Linked DNA regions of Homo sapiens: region 2 is linked to region 1. Evidence: promoter capture Hi-C in human tissues and cell types (Jung and others, 2019). All regions are on one chromosome and are shown on one strand. The core of a region is centred on a gene start or on the middle of the fragment in contact, and the rest is flanking DNA. Distances in the headings are between cores, read along the strand shown.

What was found. The method cuts DNA at HindIII sites, captures the fragments that hold promoters and counts their contacts. A contact is called where the count stands out against the background at its distance.
Region 2: a contact is called between a fragment that was not itself captured here and the fragment with the promoter of ALDOB in region 1, in 2 of the 25 tissues and cell types used here (H1 embryonic stem cells and adrenal gland).

What each region holds. Positions count from the first base shown.
Region 1 is chr9:101,433,522-101,438,580 of GRCh38, reverse strand. It overlaps ALDOB (aldolase, fructose-bisphosphate B), which reads left to right and starts at 2,807. Exons shown (of 9, transcript NM_000035.4): 1 at 2,807-2,872. The HindIII fragment of the contact is 17,042 bases long and covers 1-5,059 here.
Region 2 is chr9:101,525,419-101,530,477 of GRCh38, reverse strand. It overlaps a transcript of PGAP4 not described here. Among named protein-coding and RNA genes, the nearest start is that of RNF20, 5.9 kb to the left of the region's middle. The HindIII fragment of the contact is 6,605 bases long and covers 1-5,059 here.

The DNA.
Region 1 (5,059 bases), core at 1,558-4,057:
TTACATTGCCTATTTTAAGATCCTACAATCAAAGGCCTCTAAACCAGTTATGCATTCAGATCTAGCTATTTAATGAAAACCTATTCTGTACAAAGTGCCACTCATATATTATTTCATTCATGCTTCATAATACATTTCTGATAGAGGCATTCCTAGTTCATTTTACAGATGGGGAAACTGTGGACTAAGGTTGAAGAACTTCCCAGTGTTTCACAGCCTCCAAGTCCAATGCTGTTTCCACATATAATACTCAATTTTGAACATTGTATTGTGTTAGGAGACTTAACAAAAATAAAAATAAAAACAAAAACCCTGCAAGCAGTGTATGTTGGTCAAGAGTTGCTGTTTCTCTAAGGTCCAGTAAGCCCTTAGCTTTGTTTTCCTGAACTTTGAGTTTCAGTTGCACATCAAGCCCCAGAGGTGGGCAAATGCTGATGCTACAAGAACAGCAGCAAGTGGCAGCACTCAGGGCAGGAGTACTCATGCTGTTCTGACATTCCTAGCCAGGCTGTTGTTCACATGGAGCCATGCCCAGCTCACCAAGGACACCTACGTCTGCTGACGCAAGTCATTCCTCCCTGATTAATGAAAGTTTAATGTCCAAGGTTATAAACTGCTGAGAAGGCAATAGGGAAAGAGCTAATTTATGAGTCTGCAGTTACCAAAATGTAAGCAGCTCTGCTTTAGATCACTGTCTTGGAATGAGACAAACTCTCCAGCTACCTGTACTGTGACTCTAGACAAGTTACTTGCCCTCTCTGAACCAGAGTTTTGTTATGCATAAAATGGGGGTAATAAGCGTTTCTTCAGAGAGTCGCTGATATTGGAGATAATTTATGAAAAGAACCAGGTACATCATAGACTCTCAAAAAAAGGATAGCTATTATTGTTGTATAACAAGAATAATTAGTACTAGTAGCATCTCTCAGCAGGTAGAATGTTTTAGCTATGGTTCTGACTACCCCAGCCCTGACTCCTAACAACTTTCATTACACCCACTCTCTATTCTTTCATCACCATCCACCTCTTGTTCCTCCATTCTCCTTTACCAAAAATCATAGAGGATGAAACCTCACATAGCCCCAAAGCTGGTCACATTGGTCTGACAAATATGGTAGCAGGTGCTTCAATGAGCCCAGTTGAAGATGGGGAAACCAGGAAATGTGCCATCAGATACTAAGTGGAGTCAAGGGAGCTGATAGGACCTTTCCCTGGTCTATCCCTCTACTATCCTCAGGACAGGGCTTGGTGGGAACTTCCCTAGCCAAATGAGCCTCAATATTGTGTTTCAAATACTTCAATTTCCTTCAATATTCACATTCAGTGATGAATACTTACTGTTCTCAGAAGCCTTTGTTTTCAGGAAAAACTTGATGGTGGCTGAAAACATGATGGCTCTGCTTGGAGGGAAATGCTTGTTTTCCTCTCTCTAAGTATAAATGCTCATTCACACCTTTCCTGGCTTTTTGAGAGGTGGCAAAATGCCCAAGATTGATTGCCAGTTACTTGTGTTACCTGAATGAGGCCCTTGTGAGTCTCTGATCTAGGAAAAACAACCAAAACTAAACCAAAACTCTTTTTAGATCACCTAGTTCCGTTTATTTTTTCCTTCATTTTGTTGACATTTCACCTTTTCATCCATAAATTCTGGTGTTACACTCTGCACAATCAAGCATCTTAGTTTTGTTTTCCATTTTATGAATTATTCCAGAGGAACATGTTCATGAGAATTTACCCTTTTTTGTAATTACGGTCATTCCATCACTTTTAGATTTCCCTCATTTATTTGCCTCATTCATCATTTGCCTCTGGAAGCATATAATATTTTTATTTACCTTTTCTGGAATTAAATTTGGGTTTCATACTTAGGAAAAAGCCCTGCAGAATGAACCCATACCCAGACAGTACCATATTTAGGGGTGTTGATGGCTTAGTTCAATCACTTTAATTCTAGTTTTTAACCAAATTTGAAGACAAAAGTACAAAGGTTAAAAGAGAATGGGAATACAAAACAATGATTTCTGGCATTAAATACATCAGAAAGCCCAGCTAGGTTTTGGAGGACTGGAGAAGATGGGAGAGACAATGATTTTTAAAAACAGAATGTTTTGAATTTTATTTCCAATTTGGACAAAATTCACACATGGGAAATTCAAGGATTCAGAATCAATTTCTTTTATTGAAAGATTATTTAAATTTAACTATAAATTATAGAATAAATTGTTGGAATTGACTACTAATGATATACTGAAGATAAATAATGAAAATATAGCATTGATTACCTAATTTGGAAATAATAATTCTTGAATGCCTACTGCGTACAGACACTATACAACTCACTTAATGCTCCTGTGAAATTGAGATCCCACTTTACAGAGAAGAAAATAACGGCTCAGACAAGTAAAAAACAAAACCAAAAACCCGTCACCAAGTTCATGTGTTTTGTAAGTGTTACAGCTACACTAACATTCTTCCTAGTATCATTTAATGGACCCTAGAGCTCCATCATTGACTAGCTGTATGACTTAAGGGAACCTCCTTATCTTCCTTGCCTTAGTTTCCTCATCTGTGAAATGGAGGGTCTGGATTAGGAACTCCACGGTCTAAAGACATTCCTTGCAGCTTTAACATTCTATGAGCATAAGGAGTATATGGGCATGATTTTAAGGACTGGTTGTTTATGAGCCAATCAGAGGTGTTGAATAAACACCTCCCTACTAGGTCAAGGTAGAAAGGGGAGGGCAAATATTGGAAAAAAAAAACATGATGAGAAGTCTATAAAAATTGTGTGCTACCAAAGATCTGTCTTATTTGGCAGCTGCTGCCTCACCCACAGCTTTTGATATCTAGGAGGACTCTTCTCTCCCAAACTGTAAGTAAAAAAGCTTCCTTTGTATACCTGGACAGCACCAGTGAATAAGGGGTTAATAATACTACTAAGCTTATAGAAGGGAAGATTGGTTTGCCTTTGTTTTCGGGAAAAACTTGATGGTGGCTGAAAACATGATGGCTCTGCTTGGAGGGAAATGCTTGTTTTCCTCTCTCTAAGTATAAATGCTCATTCACACCTTTCCTGACTTTTTGAGAGGTGGCAAAATGCCCAAGATTGATTGCCAGTTACTTGTGTTACCTGAATGAGGCCCTTGTGAGTCTCTGATCTAGGAAAAACAACTTGAACACTCCTATCGTTAGGTTCTAATCAGTTTTTGAGATTCCTGTTCATTTCAACTCTCAACTCTCTTTTCATAACAACTACTTATTTTAGTGATTTATTTACATATCTACTGCCTTATGTCATTTTCTACATTCTCTTCCCACACCTACTGGTACCGACACTGAAGTTTCTTTGTCACAGAAACAAACCCTTGGAGTATTTTGCCCTTCGCCTTCACCCACTGCTCAAATGAGGAAATGCAACAGGGTTGGAAACTTCACAGAGCATAGTCATCATTTGATTATGAATTTCCAAACCCTTCATGTTTGACACTTTCTAGAACATTTCCTGCTGGCCCCAGACACTGTGAAGACCCTACAGCTTAAGATAGTAGGAATCAAAAGGTTGTGTATTTTGATACATTTGCTCTACTATCTGAAAAATAGGCATTGTGAGAATATGTTGCCTTTTTAAAAAATAACTTCTCTTTAAATAGTTACCTAGGGCTCCATTAGACAATTTGGATGCACCAGAGCTTGAACTCTGCTACCCTGCTATTCATCACTTTAGCTAAGGCACATCTGGGTAGCACCCAGGCCCAGGTTAGAGCCAGAGATACTGGGGCAGGGAATGGGGAAATGTTGAATATCTAAGAGGTCCTTTGGCTTCATTCCAAGTTTAGAGGAAAGAGCACCATTCAGGACTCGTTCTGGGCTGCTCCGCGTGTGTTAAAGGGCACTGGAAATCAGGCTGTCCTAGGACTGCCCTAGATCATCCCACTGCACTTGTCACTGGGACATTGGGGTGGATAATGAAGCTATTGGCAGCTTTAAGCATCATGTACAAAAGTGCTGCATGCAGTGCCTAGAAATCATGGGCTATCAATAAATAAGCCTCCTCATATTTGCCTTAAAAATCCATTTGTCTTGTACATAGAGAAGCAAATGAACTTTCTGCTGCCTTCTATTTCTCCAGGAATTAAATATCCATGTTACAAATAATTATGTTTTCACAGAACATCTTCAAGGAAGGCAGAAAGAACCATACCATAGGATTCTACCTGCTATTTTGCTGAAGGATTAGAAATAGAATTCTAAGTCATAAGCCAATAGGATGTAACTTGCAATCCTAGAACATCACAACTTAGAAGGCACATCAGACATAGTCTCTCTGGCTTTAGTTTCCTCATCTCTAAAGTGACAGGGTTGACGCAGGTATCTCTGAGGTCATTTGTAGCTCTGTTTTTCTGTGGTTACCTTCTGTTGTTAATACAACTTTCCTCCAGATTTATATACATATTACTTGTTACACATATGTAATAAAGTGCGTGATAAAGAATGTATAAAATGAAATGTGGCCGGGTGCAGTGGCTCATGCCTGTAATCCCAGCACTTTGCGAGGCCAAGGTGGGAGGATCGCGTGAACTCAGGAGTTCAAGACAAGCCTGGGCAACATAGCAAGACTTTGTTTATACCAAAAATAAAAAAAAAAATAGCTGGGCATGGTGGCAGGCGCCTGTAGTTTCAGCTGCTTGGTGTCTGAGGTGGGAAGATCACTTGAGCCCAGGAGGACGAGGCTTCAGTGAGTCATGATTGTGCCAGTGCACTCCAGGCTAGGCAACAGAGCAAGACTCTGTCTCAGAAAATAAAAAAGAAAGAAAGAAAAAGAAAAGAAATGTGAGAATCTCTCCACCCTACCCCATTCTTCAGAGGTAACTCCAGAGTTGTTACTCTTTGTTTATATAGACACAAAAACAGTATGGGTATATATCATTTTTTAATTAAAAAATAGGAGGACAGTATATATTGCATACTTCTCTGAAACTTGTTTTTCATTTAATAATATAATGTGAACAACTTCCATCACACTGAAAAAAGTTGGCTTGAGATCTGAGAGAGCAGAGGC
Region 2 (5,059 bases), core at 754-3,253, 93 kb before region 1:
CTCATTGCTTGTATCAAAAACATAATTTAAGCAAATAGTAATCTTTTTTAAAAGGAGAAAACAGACTCAGATTTTAAGTGATTTTTTTTTTCAAATGATGACTTAATGAGTATTTGTTGAAGGACCCAAGTCATTCGACCTCCAGCCGGTCTTCATTAACTACCCAATTCTGCCACAAGGTGGCATAAGGCGACACGCCTCTTTACCCAGTTCCCTTTCTAAAGCTTTGGTTGCACAGTACTGCGCATCAGTCATGTCCTGTCTTCACCCTAACTCTTAGAAACTTGGACAACTACTGAGGGTAGGCTTAATGCTCTCAAAATGGACAAAATTAAGATATTTTGGATTTTTGTTTATTGTTTTTTTCTACACTGCTTTACAAATGTTTTGTTCTAAGATTGTTATATCTCCAGGCATTCCAATATTCCATGAAATCTGGATTGGATTGTATGCCAGACATAATTCAGGAACTCCCTTATTTTAAACAAGTTGTATTTTACTTAGCATGGTATCACTCGTTAAACAGAAACATTTAGATACCATAGCCCTTGCTCTAGACTTGCTGAATCAGAATTTCCGGGGGAAAGCTCTCTGAAAATGCAAGTTCTTACTTTTGTAATTATGCTTCCTATCTGGGCACATTTAAGGAACACTGCTCTAGGTAATGATGTCCAGGTCCACCTGGGAGTGTCCTACAAAAACGAGCCCCCTCCTCTTGTCCTCACCTTTCCCTTCTCCTACCATTCACCCTCGCCACACCTTTCTCCTTCATTTCCATACCCCTGCCTCCTTCTCCCCAGATCACCTGGCCCACTATACTACATCATACTCAGCCCTCTTACTTTGTAATTTCTGGGGACCAGGGAGGTGGCTTACTCAGGGGAGCTAGAGCCAGGTCTGCCTTTTTTAAAGAGTGAGGACAAGGTGTCCTAACAGTCTATGGAAACGTGAGAGCTAATTGGTAGTCACAAATTGTCAGAGGAGCCCCATTTAGTTTAATGCTCTCTTAAAAAGCTGAGAGAAGGCCGGGCGCGGTGGCTTATGCCTGTAATCCCAGCACTTTGGGAGGCCAAGGCGGGCGGATCACCTGATGTCAGGAGTTCAAGACCAGCCTGGCCAACATGGTGAAACCCTGTCCCTACTAAAAATACAAAATTAGCTGGGCATGGTGGTGGTCGCCTGTAATTCCAGCTACTCGGGAGGCTGAGGCAGGAGAATCACTTGAACCCAGGAGGCAAAGGTTGCAGTGAGCCGAGATCACACCATTGCACTCCAGCCTGGGCAAAAAGAGTGAAACTCCATTTCAAGAAAAAAAAAAAAAAAAGCCGAGAGACACCATGCAGCTATAAAAAAAGAATGACATCATGTCATTTGCAGGGACATGGATGCAGCTGAAGGCCATTATCCTTAGCAAACTAACACAGGAACAGACAACCGCACGTACTCACTTATAAGTAGGAGCTAAGTGATGAGAACACATGGACACAGAGAGAGAGAGAGAGGAGCAACACAAACCAGGGCCTAGTGAAGGGTGGGAGGAGGGAGAGGATCAGGAAAAACAACTAACGAGAACTAGGCTTAATATCTGGATGATCAAATAATCTGTACAACAAACCCCCATGACAAAATTACCTATGTAACAAACTGCACATGTGCCTCTGAACTTAAAAAAAAAAAAAAAAACTAAGAAGTGTCTATGTTACAATCATACAATTGGTCTTTTATGTCCCTATGCCCAGCCATGTGACAGTCTATGTTTGGGTTTCTAACATTTTTATCATTTGTATTTCTATGATGCTTTTGTGTTTGGAAAGCAGAAGCCAGGTTGTCTTTGTGAATTTTCACTGGGTAGGTCTACTCTTCCATATTACTGTTACTGTGCAACTAGAAACCCACCTGGCCTTGGAGGAGAAAGAACAGCATCACTGAAATGCTTGCATCAGGCGTTGGGGATGGGGGTACAGCATGTAATTACAAAGGTAAGATTTGGAATTTCCATTTCCAGAAGCATGGCATGACCATCATTCAGAAAGCAAGCTGAGGACTAAAACTGGATTTCAGCTGAGGGCATTTGTCAAACTAGGTAAAGGAGAATTTAGGTTTTCATGGCCTTGGTAGGCAAGCAGAACAGGAGACAAAGCCCAGGGACTATTATGATTGGGTGCATATTAGAGACCCCTCCCCATACAAGCAAGGTGGAAACAACTACTTCCAACTGAAAGAAAATTGCCTGTCTCAAACTTTGGTATAAATATTTTTGCTGACTGGTACAGAATTCTAGAAGGCACTTAAAAAGAATTTCCAGAAATGTGGAAAAATAAAAGAAGGGCACAAAGAGGCCATGGGCAGTGCCTATGATCTCATTTTTACTTTTAAAACTTAAAAAATGCAATAAATCTTTTCCTGACCCTGGGTAATTGTGCTTATTTAGTACAAATCTGAGTACAGATTTTGGGGCAACAGTACCTAATTAGGCACACCCAGGCACACCCTAACTTACCCTTGGAGCTTACAGGAATTCCAAGAAAATCCACATGGGTAGAGATTGAGCGTCTTTCCCAATGGGCAGTCAAGATGATGAGATGGATCACTAAATTCTAAAGAATCCATGTCATGCTGTATACACACAGCAAGGAGGGCCTTAATATTAGCAAAACAACATCAAGTGTCTCACATTAAATAAATGTTGTTAACTTTAAGCTTATTTGGCTCTGTAGCCTTGTTTATATTTAATTTGTAAGTATATTTTTGTTTGTAAGCTGTATAAGCATAAGGCATGCATACCAAGTTTATATTTATACATTTTAACATTACAATTAAAATATTTTAAGTAAACATTAAGTGGCCCATGAGAAAATTGTTTTCCTTTGAAAGAGGGGTCCATATATTACTTAAGTTTGTAAAACATTTATTACTTAATTGTGTAGCTACTGTCTTGTGTGGCCATAATTATGTCTAGTCTTTTCATTTTCTTTTAAATTATTCTAGGATCAATAAGGGAGAATTGATATAAATATAACTGATATAGTATATCAGTTTAAACATGTATTGACTCCAACAACGACATGTATTAAGATATGAATTTCTGGTGCCCAAAGGCATATGGCCAAATTCAGTTAAAAGGAGGTCTTACAGCAGTAGTATACGGCCAGGAATCCACAAATGTTCGGAATCTTGCCTCATCAGCACCCCTTTCCTGACTCAGAAGAAAGAAAAAGGCTGATTACATTGATGACTAATGCAGTTACCTAGAGAGTTATGAATTCTCAAGAGACTGCCTCCAGAATCTCAGCGCTTATAAAGCCCTTCCAGGTGGGGCTGCCATCCTCGTCAACCCTGTGATACTTGTAGCACTCAGCCGACTCTCTCTTCTCACTGTCACAACTTCAGGAAACACTGATCTTAAATATGCACATGCTGATATATAGTGAATTCAAGCTTCATCTTTATTGCAGGATGATGGTAGTATCTCCTCCCAAAGGCATTTATAAAACAGGAGACACATGAGTTAATTTGGAAGAGGTGGAAGGAAGTTCAGGATTTCCTGATATCCCTTCCCTGTTCTTCCTCCCAAGCATAGTTCTGGTTGGTACCATTTACTTTGGAAAAATGGAATAAGTCATTATGCTTCACTTATTGAACTAAACCTTGAAATTACAATTTATGAACCACCCTAGAAGCTGGATTCATTTGCATCATGTACTTGAATAAGGTTTTGAAAGTAACTGGGGCCAGGCGCAGTGGCTCATGCCTGTAATTCCAGGAGTTGGGAAGGTCAAGGTGGGTGGATCACCTGACGTCAGGAGTTCAAGAGCAGCCTGGCCAACATGGTGAAACCCCATCTCTACTAAATACACAAAATTAGCCAGGCATGGTGGCGCATACCTGTAGTCTCAGCTACTTGGGAGGCTGAGGCAGGAGAATCACTTGAACCCAGGAGGCAGAGGTTGCAGTGATCCAAGATCATGCCACTGCTCTCCAGCCTGGGCGAGAGAGTCAGACGCCATCCCAAAAATAAATAATAAAAATAAATTTAAAAAAATAAAAGTACTGGATGCCAGGGTAATAGAGATTTCAATAGTACAGGGAGAAAGATACTTTTAATGGACTATGTCCAAACCATGCAGCAAATTTTGACATTACATTGACATTTCAAATATTCAGTTAACCTTGAAGACTATTCCCTTTCTCTTTTTCTTATTTGTGCTTGCTTTTATTAATAATCTAATAATTATGTGGGTAGCCACTTACAACAGAGTGATGGCCAAGGCTAATTAGATCAGTGTGTTTGAAATGTGATCTTAACATTTAGAAGAACAGCAAGGAGATGTGTTGCTTCAAGCTGTTAAATGCTAAAATATGTGAAGTACTGAACATCTTGTTTTGTATTTTTTTCTTCTTATGAAAACTGTCCTTTTATAAATAAATGTCAATTTGTACCAAAAGCCTAAACTATGTCATACCCAATGATTCAGCTATTCCAGGTTTGATTATATGCTTGAAAAAAATAGAATCACATACTTGTTTAAATATGACTGTACAAAAATGTTTAACATAGCATTATTTATTACTTAAAATTTTTAGAATCAATTTGTATAAATCATGAAATGTCCTCGAATATAGAATTCTATGTAGTCATTAAAGTTGTGATATAGATTTGTATTTCTTAACACTGAAATATAAGAATATGTTGTTGAATGGGATAAGTCGGTTTCAGGAATATATGCATAACATTTATTTTCTCTCTCTCTCTCTCTTTTTTTTTTTTTTTTTTTTTTGAGACGCTCTGTTGCCGAGGCTGGAGTGCAATGGCGCAATCTTGTCTCACTGCAAGCTCCGCCTCTCGGGTTCAAGTGATTCTCTCTTCCTTAGCTTCCTGAGTAGCTGAGATTACAGGCACCTGTCACCACACCTGGCTAATTTTTGTATTTTTAGTAGAGACAGGGTTTCGCCATGTTGGCCAGGCTGGTCTCGAACTCCCGACATCAGGCAATCTGCCCACCTCGGCCTCCCCAAGTGCTGAGATTACAGGCATGAGCCACTGCGCCCGCCAACATTT